2 separate regions of the Homo sapiens genome follow, and region 2 is linked to region 1. The links are contacts of gene promoters, found by promoter capture Hi-C in human tissues and cell types (Jung and others, 2019). All regions are on one chromosome and are shown on one strand. The core of a region is centred on a gene start or on the middle of the fragment in contact, and the rest is flanking DNA. Distances in the headings are between cores, read along the strand shown.

Region 1 (5,025 bases), core at 252-2,751:
ATTATAGTTTGTGCTGGTCATATGACCTCCCCTGTCACTACTCAACTCTGCTCTTATAGCTGGGATGCAGCCATACACACTCTGTGATGAGGGGTGTGGCTGGACCTGCCACTACAGCTATTTGACCCTGGACTCCCTAAGATCCCAGAAGCATGTGTGGTTGGAAAAGGTGCTATGTGGATTTCATGGCTATTCCCAACCACAGAATCCAACAGGGTCCCCTAGTGCTCAGAAGCAAAGCTGTGCCACTCACAGCAGTGAAATCCCCTCATTTAAAAGTGGCTCCTGCTGTGGTCCTGGGCCCCTGTGGAGATGGGCCTCCAGCTATGGGAGGGCAGTGACCACACAGCCTCAGAGCTGCCCATCACAGGGTGTGCTCCTCACCCTTTAGGTCATTAGGAAGATAGGCCCCACAGTGAGAAGACACAGGTGGGTCTCCTGGGATGGGCAGGAGCAGGGCCACAGGGAACCAAGAAGCTGCACAAGCAGTTGGCTCTGATCCCCAGGACACCACATGGCTACACCCCCCCACCCTCAGGTCACACCTGAGGCTTCAGGGAGGGTCCCTGAATGGCCCCTGGGGACCGTTAATGCTACTCAGCAACAAAGGAGGGGAGCAGTAGGCCCCGAACCATGGGACTCCCCCTCACATTCATCACATCCACACCTCCCAGAAGCCACAGGCAGGGTAGGACACACTTGTGACTCTTCAACTTACACAACTTAGAGATGACACCCTAGGGGATGGGGCAGCAATTGCCAGGACACAGCATGTGCCCTCATCTGGAGTCTGCAACCTAGGACAGGGTCCATTTCAGGTTTCTCTTTTACTTGCAGGTTGCCATTGCCTGCTGTTGCTCTACAAAGGGACGGGACTTGACACAGAGACAGAGAACTCACGGCCAGCAAGGACCAAAGTGCCTTCAGCCTTTCCTTTCTAGAAAGGGTTTGCTGACTCCTGTCTGCTTAGTGACTATTCTATATGACGCTGGCGTCACCCATGTCTTGACCCCAGCTCGGGTTCCGGGGGCTCTGGTTTCTCCTTCCCGAGGACGAGTGGGGCTGCGGGGTTGCACCAGGGATCCCCTCCCCACCTCGCCCTCTGCAGCTTTTTGGCCCCTCCACCCTCCTGCGGTTCTTTTTTCGCCTTCTTTGACCCCCCTCCTGCTCTGCAGGGCAAGCAGCAGCCGCAGGAAGCGGACCTGGCGAAAAAGAGCAGCGAATCGGAACTGAGCGTGGGGGCAGTCCGGGGAGATCGCGCCGGTCCTTCTAGAAGGCTTCCCTCCTCTGAAACCCGCTGCAGTCCACAGCCCCCCAGGTTTGGCCCCCGCCCCGCTTAGGCTCCATCCCCGAACTCACCGGCCCGCCCCGTCCCGGACCAGTCGAATAGCAGGTACGGAAGAATCGCGAGGCGCGGAAGGATCGCGGGGCTGGCGGCCGCTGCCATTGTAGACCAGGAGCGCCCGGGACACAAGGCGCAGTCGATGTGGAGACCAGCGTATGAATCACTTCGGCCCTCGCATGCCAGCTAGTGATTGAGTGTGCTCGGCCCCGTCCGGTCCCGTCCCGCCCCGGGATCCAGGGGAGCCTACGCCTGCCCACGTTTGGAGGGATGCTCCGCCCTATCCCGCCCCGTCCCGCCCTTCCCCGCCCCACCCCAGGCTGGGACCCGGGGAGCCTATGCCTGCTGTGGCTCCGCTTCGTCCCGCCCCGGGCTCGTGGCCTGACAGCGGCCCCCTCTGGCCAACCCTTACCCTCCACCCCAGGCTCCGCGCGGGCCAGGACACGATTCCTTCTTGACCGCCTCATTTAATTTTTTAACACACCATTTATTATTACCCCAATGTAAGCACTGATGCACAGGAAAGCGAAGAAACTTGCACAGGGATATCCAGTGGCGGCTGTGTCCCCCCGTCACTGCCTCCGCCAGCGACACCTGCCCTCCTTCAGCCTGCGCCAAGGAGTCCCCGCCCCTCTCCGTCCAGGGCGCAGCTGCTTCCCAGTCCGGAGCAGACCTTCTTTGCCTCTCCACTAAAAGCATGAGGAATATATAGAATATATATAGAATAAAGTATATTCTATATCCCTTTATGACTTCTGGGAAAAAAAAGAAAGAAAAGAAAGCCCTAGTGGCCTACCGTGATCAGTGATCAAATGATCAATTGTGTTTCCATGGAGAGCAGAAGCCGAGGGAGGGTCTACGCATGCGTGGGGCTCACTTTGCTGTACACCCATCTGTGGCCAGCTACACGCAAATCCATGGCTGCACGCGCATCTCTGCCCTGTCCCTGGATGGTGACTGCAGCCATCCTCAAAGCGGCAACCCGAGTGTATCCTCGTCTCAGTCACCATGGAAACATCTAGATCTGTGGGCAGAAGCCAGAGGGAGGTGATGGGCCCAGTGGCCCTTGGCCGCAAGGGAGGGCTTTAGCCTGGGATGAGGAGTGGACAGAGATCTTGAGTGCCACTCAGGCCCCAGCCACTCAGCCCATTCCCTATTGAATGAGAAAAATCGGCACAGACCTCCCACTCCGTACAGTCTTCATGTTGGGATCACCTGCACCTGGTGATCATCAATCCCGAGGGTCCTGAGGCTGTGGGAAAGAGGAGGAGGCCTGGACAAAGCCCAGGGCCTGTTTCTGCTTCAGGACAGAGTCATGGGAGGGCAGCCACCTCTGTGACTGAGCAGGGACACAGGAGCCTAGAAGATTCTGGCCTGATGCACTAGAGCCCCTGTGCAGGAGGGGCCATGTGGAGGGTAGTTTGGAGGACAACAGACACACAAGGGTGGGCAGTTCTCAGATTTGGGAGGGGCAGAGCTTGGCGGGTCCCAGGATCTGTGTGTGAGAAGAGCCTCCCATGTACAGGGCTGGGGGCAGGAGCCCAGGTTAGTCCTGGGAGGAGGCCTCTGGGAAGGCCCTGGCAGCACCACCCCGAGGCCAGGTGACCTGGGCCAGTGACTGGGGGAACAGGAGGAAGGTAGAAGGAGGCTGGCAGGAGAGCCCCAAGCAGGACAGGAGGAGGGGCTTTTGTGCACACCTGGGCCCTCCTGACTCACCCCTGCTGCAGGCATCTGGCCAACAGACTCAGGCCTGCCCAGGATGGGGATAGAAGTGGCCCAAATGTTATTGTAATGGCCGGGATCTAGAGATCATGCATTCAGATATGGAAGTCAGCTGATATTGTGGCTGAATATTCCTGTGCAAGCTTCTTCAGCTTTCTAGGAATGGATGTCTGCATGTGGAAAATGACAAATGCTATGAACACAGATGAAATGAGCAGATTCTACAAGGAACCCTGTCCTTGCACATGCTAAGGACCCAGGGCAGGTCTCCTATTTCAGTTGTGAGGCCTCCAGCTCTCCCTGAAGTCAGCAACTGCCAGGCCCACCCTGAGGAGAGCTGGATCTCTGAGCCCAGGCCATGGCCTCTTCATGGCCCTGGGGGCGCTGTGATGGGGAGGAAATGAAAACAAGACCCACCATCAAGACTCAGGCATGTTTTTCAGACCCACAGAGGATGATTTTTCTCTCCATCACCTGGTGAGCCTGACGTGATGTAAGGGTGGTTGGAAGCTGAGTGAACCAGTGAATGAATGAGACAGTTGTGGGAGTGAATGGGACTCAGAAGAATAGCACAGGTTCAGAGGGGAGCTGGAGCGGAGGTTGTAACCCCCAGCGGCCTGAAGGTGGCAGCATCGAGGTTGGTAATTTTTTTTTTTTTTTGCCTTTTTTAGTTGTTGGGTTTTATTTGTTGTTTTCCGGTTTGTTTGTTTTTGAGACAGTCTCACTCTGTCGCCCAGACTGGAGTGCAATGGGACGATCTCAGCTCACTACAATCTCTGCCACCCGGGTTCAAGCGATTCTCTTCCCTCAGCCTCCCGAGTAGCTGGGATTAGAGGCACCTGCCACCACCCCCGGCTAATTTTTGCAATTTTAATAGAGACAGGGTCTCACCGTGTTGGCCAGGCTGATCTCGAACTCCCGGCCTCAGGTGATCTGCCTGCCTCGGCCTCCCAAAGTGTTGGGATTACAGGCGTGAGCCACTTCGCCTGGCCCCAACTTGGAAATTTGAATCTCCACCTGGGTGTCCACAAAGATTTTCCAAGGAAGAGTAACTTTGGTTTTCAACCAGTCTGGGGGGTGCTTCATCAGGATAGAATCTTCTAGAAAACATAGTGTGATGACGGACAGCAAACTGCTGTCTTCAGTTGGTTTGACTGAGCCTAGAGTGCACCAGGGCCAGGAAAATCTTGTCTTTTTCTTGCCTTTTTTTTTTTTTGAGACGTTGTCTCATACTATCGCCCGGGCTGGTGTGCAGTGGTGTGATCTAGGCTCGCTGCAACCTCCGCCTCCCGGGTTCAAGCGATTTTCCTGCCTCAGCCTCCTGAGTGGCTAGGATTACAGGCATCCCCACCATGCCCGGCTAGTTTTTTGTATTTTTAGTCGAGATGGGGTTTCACTATGTTGGCTAGGCTGGTCTCGAACTCCTGATCTCATGATCCGCCCGCCTTGGCCTCCCAAAGTGCTGGTATTACAGGCGTGAGCCACCGCGCATGGCTGAAATACTTGCCTTTTAAGCAAAGAAAGAACGAGTCTGAAAGTGGGAATGGAAATGGGAAAAGATAACCGGGCCAGGAGGAAAGAGGAGAAAAGAAGGGTTGGGGTCTGAGAGGTAGCAAGGATTCAAGCATTTCCTGCCCCATGGCCTGGAGTTGCAAGTGGGCGGGGCAGGGCTACTGGAGCTGTGACAGCCTTGAGGGCCAGGGTGACTCACGCAGCGGCTCTCTGCTTCCTCTGGGTGTGTCACACCCTGGGCTCCTGGTCCCCAGTGGCACAGGTGCTGGCGCGAAGTTGGGTGTTTGCCTCCAGCCTCTGCTCCTGCTGCCAGGCTGGTCCAGGGCAGGTTGGGGCGGGGCAGTGAGTTCTAGGGCTGGACCCTAAGCAGGGGTGTGGGCAAATATGGGGGTCTTGGACTGCAGGGGGTCAGGAGAGGGGAGGCTTCTGGAAGTTCCTGAAGGTTGCCC
Region 2 (5,557 bases), core at 2,000-4,499, 190 kb after region 1:
CCTCATAATCTCTGAAACTGTGTAGGAGATGGAACTTAGAAAGGAGAGACAGATTGAGGTGAGCCACACATAGAGCAACAGAGAGAGATGGTGATCCCAAGACAGGATGCTGGAATGAAGAGAGCCAGAGAGTAGCAGACAGGCATGAGCATGTGTGGGAGGGTCCATGCCACATTGGGGTCTCAAAGTGTCCATACCTCGAACAGGTGAAGAGCCAGGACCCAGAGCCTTGGAGCCCAGGCCCACAGGAGACTGCAGCCACCCAGGGAGCCAGGGCTCGGGTGTCCCAGGAATAGCCAGGGTCAAGCTCTGCCTCCCATCCTCAGGCTCAGCCTTCACCTTGATCGGATTTCCTGGTCTCCTTCATTCCCACATCATCCACTCTGCTGAATTCCTTCCATAGATGATCACTTCTCCCCAGGACACCGCCCCAGCAGCAAGTAACAGCCTGCCTGGCAGCGAGCCTTGCACGGGCCCATCCCCACCCGCTCACAGGCACACACTGGCTTGTTCAGGAGGTGGGTTCCAGCTCTCTTCTTCCTCCCTGCACTCCATGTTGGGTTGCTTCGCCTGTGGGTTCTCATGCTTACAAGCCCTTGGTGTAACTTTGCCTCCAACCCGTTCAGCATCACGTCAACTTCAATTGCCAATGCCCTAACCCACTCCCTTATGCTTCCATCATCTTGTTTAGGCTATCAGACAAACAAATTAAGACAGACATGTGAATACTGCCATGCAATACAGAGCAATGGATGGGAGGAAAGTCCATATTTTGTCGTCTTATCTCCAGGAAGAAATGAAGGCGGGAAGAGTAAGAATGATGCCCTGTTCCTTAACAAAACACTTTGTGCATTCTTTATTGTGTCATAGCTGTGCAAGGAAACAAAGCTATTGCATTTTATTTGGGCTGGAAATGTAAAATCTTTAAAATATAACTTTTAGAAGGAAGGCAGTTGCTCTTTTTCCTCGTGTCTTATCATGAGAGTCATTTGATCCAAGATACTGCTCCTTAACTTACGCTTTTTATTTGGAAGAAACACTAACGATACTTCTTAGGGATATTGTACAGAGAAAGTAGGTTGCACATTTAACCTTAGGAACAGAAACTGCTGTTGCTTAAGTACCGCTCACCCTTTCACCACCTGAGATGAAGAATGACTCAACCATATGATGAAACAGAGAAAGCCATGTTTCTAATGAGGCCAGAGCCTGAAGGCAGAAACCCTTCAAGAGCTGAATTTCCCATTTTGTTGCCAACAACAAATAAACTCAGTGTTCCTTCAATGACGATTAATCCGGCAAAAACCATGCAGAAATGAAGGAGCTTTAAAATGATCATCATTCATCAACCCAACCATCTCCCTTGGATACCCACTTCATTACTAAGAGAGTAATTATTTTTGTGTTGTCAGTTTTAGGGAAAAGCCCTTGAGGATTATTCATTGGTAATTGGAAAAATAAATGTTAATGTCTTCTGTGGATTAGGAAAGAATGTTTTATGACTAACTGTTTAGACGCTTCTGTTGCATTGCCTGAGTTTGGAAGCTTCATTGGTTTTCCAGCCAAGGCTTCATAAAAGCTTTCAAATTACCTGTAGCTGTCAGAGAGGAGTCTCCTCAAGGAGATGGATGAAGCTTGCCCACGATGCCGCATTCCAGGTTTTTGTAATAATGCTGTGGCAGCCCCATCTTTCTCCCGACTTTTATTTTATTTTATTTTATTTTCTTGAGATGGAGTCTCATTCTGTCACCCAGGCTGGAGTGCAAATGTGCAATCATGGCTCACTGCAACCTCTGCCTCCCAGGTTCAGGCAATCCTCCCACCTCAGCCTCCTGAGTAGCTGGGACTACAGGCGTGCACCACTATGCTGGCTAATTTTTCTATTTTTTGTAGAGACAGGGTTTCACCATGTTGCCCAGACTGGTCTCACTCTTGGACTCAGGCAATCCTGCCTGCCTTGGCCTCCCAAAGTGCTGGCCCCGACTCTTCTTAAATTGTGGTCCCAAGGCCAAGCTGTAGTGCCAGTGATTTTCCTCATTGAGGAAATGAGCTCAGGTTATTAGAAGTGATGAAGTCAGCAGGCCCCCACAGGATGAGGTTTTAGTAGCCACAGGGCTTGAGGTGCAGCCTCTGGGAACCCAATCTCTTGATCTACAAGGGTGGCTCTGGGGAATGTGAAAAAATTGGACAAAAATACTATCTAGCCCCAGCAGGAAGGATTAGGGTGGCCCTTGACAGTGTGGAGTGGTAAATACACCCATAAAAATATGTTGAAGAATGAGGGGCCGGGGTGGAATTGGCTTCCCTCTGTAATATATTGACAAAAGGGCCGGGTTTAGTTTTTCTCTGCAGAATGGTCCAAAGCAGTTGTGGCAAGAACAGGCCCAGGAAGAGCTGGAGTCTCCCTCTTACTATTAATTTTGGATGACCCCATGCAGCACCCATTCAGCCTGTCCAGCTCACATGACTACACACAGGTTTAATCAAGAATCTCTTCCCAGCCGGGGGCAGTGGTTTACGCCTATAGTCCCACACTTTGGGAGGCCGAGGTGGGCAGATTGCTTGAGCTCAGGAATTTGAGACCAGCCTGGGCAACATGGCAAGACCTCTTCTCTACAAAAAAAATATGAAATATTAAGCAGCATGGTGGTGTGTGTCTATAATCCCAGCTACCTGGGAGGCTGTGCTAGGAGGATCACTCAGCCCGGCGGTTGAGGCTGCAGTGAGCTGTGATCGCGCCACTGCACTCCAGCCTGCGTGAGAGAGTGAGAGCCTGTCAAAAAAAAAAAAAAAAAAAAAAAAAAGAAGAAGAAGAAAAGAAAGAGAAAGGAAAAGAAAAGAATCTGCAAGCTCAAACCGCAAGTAATGGGGCCATCAGCTACCTTTTATTGAGCGCTTACCGTGCCACGTACCGTGCACTTGAGTTTATTGTCCACAGAATCTTCATAGTTACACTTGCCTCAGGAGGGGATTGTCTTTCCCATTATATAGATAAGGAAACTGAGGCTTGGAGAGAGTAAGTACTGTAAGGTCATACATTCAGTAGATGATAAAGCTTCTATTTCAAGGCCAGTGATCTGATTACAAAGCCAATTCTGCTAAACTGTGTATAGCTAGTGCTTATACATGGAACTTAGACTCCAAGTTAGACTGTTACCTGGGATAGGGAGGCATGGGTGATCATGTCTTTTGCCTCTTATTTTATCTTGTATATTGTATTAGTCTGTTTTCATGCTGCTGAGAAAGACATACCTGAGACCAGGTAATTTATACAGAAAAAGGGTTTAATGGACTTACAGTTCCACATGGCTGGAGAAGCCTCACAATCGTGGCAGAAGGGAAGGAAGAGCAAGTCACATCTTATGTGGATGTCAGCAGGCAAAGAGAGAGCTTGTGCAGGGAAACTCCCCCTTATAGAACCATCAGAGCACATGGGACTTATTCACTATCACGATAACAGCACAGTAAAGACCTGCTTCTATGATTCAGTTACCTCCCACCAGGTCCCTCCCACAACACGTGGGAATTCAAGATGAGATTTAGGTGGGGACACAGCCAAACCATATATCATATATGTATTAAGGTAAGCCCTAAATTAGGTGCTAGATTAAGCAGTCTGTGGTTCAGGTACACTGATCTGAATATTTCCTCCACAGAACACATTAATCAAACCATGCAAATATATTGCAGGGAAGGGTCTTGCCCAGAACACATTGCAAGGGGGTTAGGGGCAGGGGAGTAGGGTATGGTCTTCATTGTGATTTTCTGTGGGGCTCTAGTGGACTACGGGAGACTGACAGAGTGAAAAGAATACTTGGGCCTATTATAGCCCAGCCTGGTGTCTGAGCAAGTGATTTAATCTGTCTGGCCTTCTTGGGATTCTCTTTATCTATAAACTTAAGAACACTTACCCTGACAATTCCACAGAGTAGAAGGGCTCAAATGAGCAATTAATGTGAAAAGGTTTGGCACAGTGTGAACACATACAGGGGAAAGGTCATGTTCATTAGTCTGGAAACTTAAGTAGCTACAAAGATGTGGTGCCAATCAATGAATCCGTCGATCAGTCAGTCAGTCAAGAGCAGTGATCTTGAAATCTGAATCTAGGGCTGGATGAGGTAGCTCACACCTGTAATCCCAGCACTTTGGGAGGCTGAGTTAGGTGGATCACCTGAGGTCAGGAGTTTGAGACCAGCCTGGGCAACATGGTGAAACCCCATCTCTACCAAAAATACAAAAATTAGCCAGGTACCATGGCACACAGCTGCAGTTCCAGCTACTGGGGAGGCTAAGTCAGGAGAATCACTTGAGCTCAGAAGGTGGAAGTTGCAGTGAGCTGAGATCATGCCATTGCCCTCCAGCCTGGGCAACAGAGTAAGACTCTATCTTTAAAAAAAAAAAATCTGAATCTAGCTCCAGCTCTGCTTTTACTTTCTATGTGGTTCCCAGTGCTGACTTAGGTATCTGCCCCTTGTTTTCTTCGTCTGTAAAATGTAAACAACAGCAAGATTAGAGTTCATGTGTATATAAGTGCATAGATACATAAAGCACCTTACTACTCTTACCTAATTAGGAAGATCCTGCATGCAGTTACTTAGAATACTTTTCTTGCTCATATCCAGTTTGAAAAGTAATGACCACTAAGGACCTTCTTCCTTTTTCTCCTGTTCGTCCTTCTGGGGCTGTTTCTATCATTCATCTGATCTGATAAACCATGAGTGTGAAACCAGCAGAAGTTCAGTGAAGCTGACGGCACACCTTAAGTCTGTGACGCCATGATTAGATGTCTCTAGAAGCAGGAATAGAGCATCTGTCCCCTAGGACAAGTGTCTGTACCCCAGAATTCTCAAGCTCTCACATTCCATAGTCAAGAGTTTGAAGGATCTGGAAAAATAAAAAATTTTAAAGTATCTTTGTCGTCTCTGTGTTACACTTTCTACTTTTTGATATTGAAATGTGTTTTTATTGTTTCTCCCTCTTGGGGTCATATTTGGCCAGGGAGTGGGAGTGGTAGTTGAGCAAGAATCCTAAATCCAATAGCCATCCCAGAGGGCCAAATTATAGGTGGGAAAATGGCCCACCATATCTAAGATTCAGAGGACAAGAAACCCACCTACGGAGGCACACATGTTTTTTTTTTTCAAGCATTTCTCAGAGACACTGTTTGTTAAATCAAGGACAAGGTTATGGAAGATCATCTTTAATTAAACCTGTAGTCAGTCCCTTTGGGGCTGTGTGCTGTGTTCACCTCTTAAATTCTGTATTCCAATTAGCAGAATTCTTGCTCCTGGCCCTGAGGCTTTATTTGCAGGTCTCACCATTCTTTGTTAGCTATAATCTGCTCATTTTGTCTGGAAGCACCTGCTCTACTGTTTCTTCCCATGCTGTCTCAGGGTGCATATTTTTTTCCTTTCTTGATGTGTCTTTGTTGTTGAGATTGCTACTAGGTGCAGAGTCTGCTTTCTCTCTTAAATCACCACCGCCTGCTTCTCACCACCCCTGGATATTCTACCTTTCCCCTGAATCTGCCTCCACCTGTCCATGGTATTTAATAAAG

What was found. The method cuts DNA at HindIII sites, captures the fragments that hold promoters and counts their contacts. A contact is called where the count stands out against the background at its distance.
Region 2: a contact is called between a fragment that was not itself captured here and the fragment with the promoter of ULBP3 in region 1, in 1 of the 25 tissues and cell types used here (neural progenitor cells).

What each region holds. Positions count from the first base shown.
Region 1 is chr6:150,067,620-150,072,644 of GRCh38, forward strand. ULBP3 (UL16 binding protein 3) reads right to left here and starts at 1,502. Exons shown (of 5, transcript NM_024518.3): 1 at 1,360-1,502. The coding sequence starts at 1,447. It overlaps LOC124901428 (a long non-coding RNA gene), which reads right to left and starts at 2,654. Exons shown (of 2, transcript XR_007059809.1): 1 at 2,139-2,654; 2 at 1,809-2,031. RefSeq lists enhancers at 1,177-1,226, 1,247-1,326, 2,524-3,391. The HindIII fragment of the contact is 17,553 bases long and covers 1-5,025 here.
Region 2 is chr6:150,255,575-150,261,131 of GRCh38, forward strand. No RefSeq gene overlaps it. Among named protein-coding and RNA genes, the nearest start is that of IYD, 110 kb to the right of the region's middle. The HindIII fragment of the contact is 3,375 bases long and covers 1,563-4,937 here.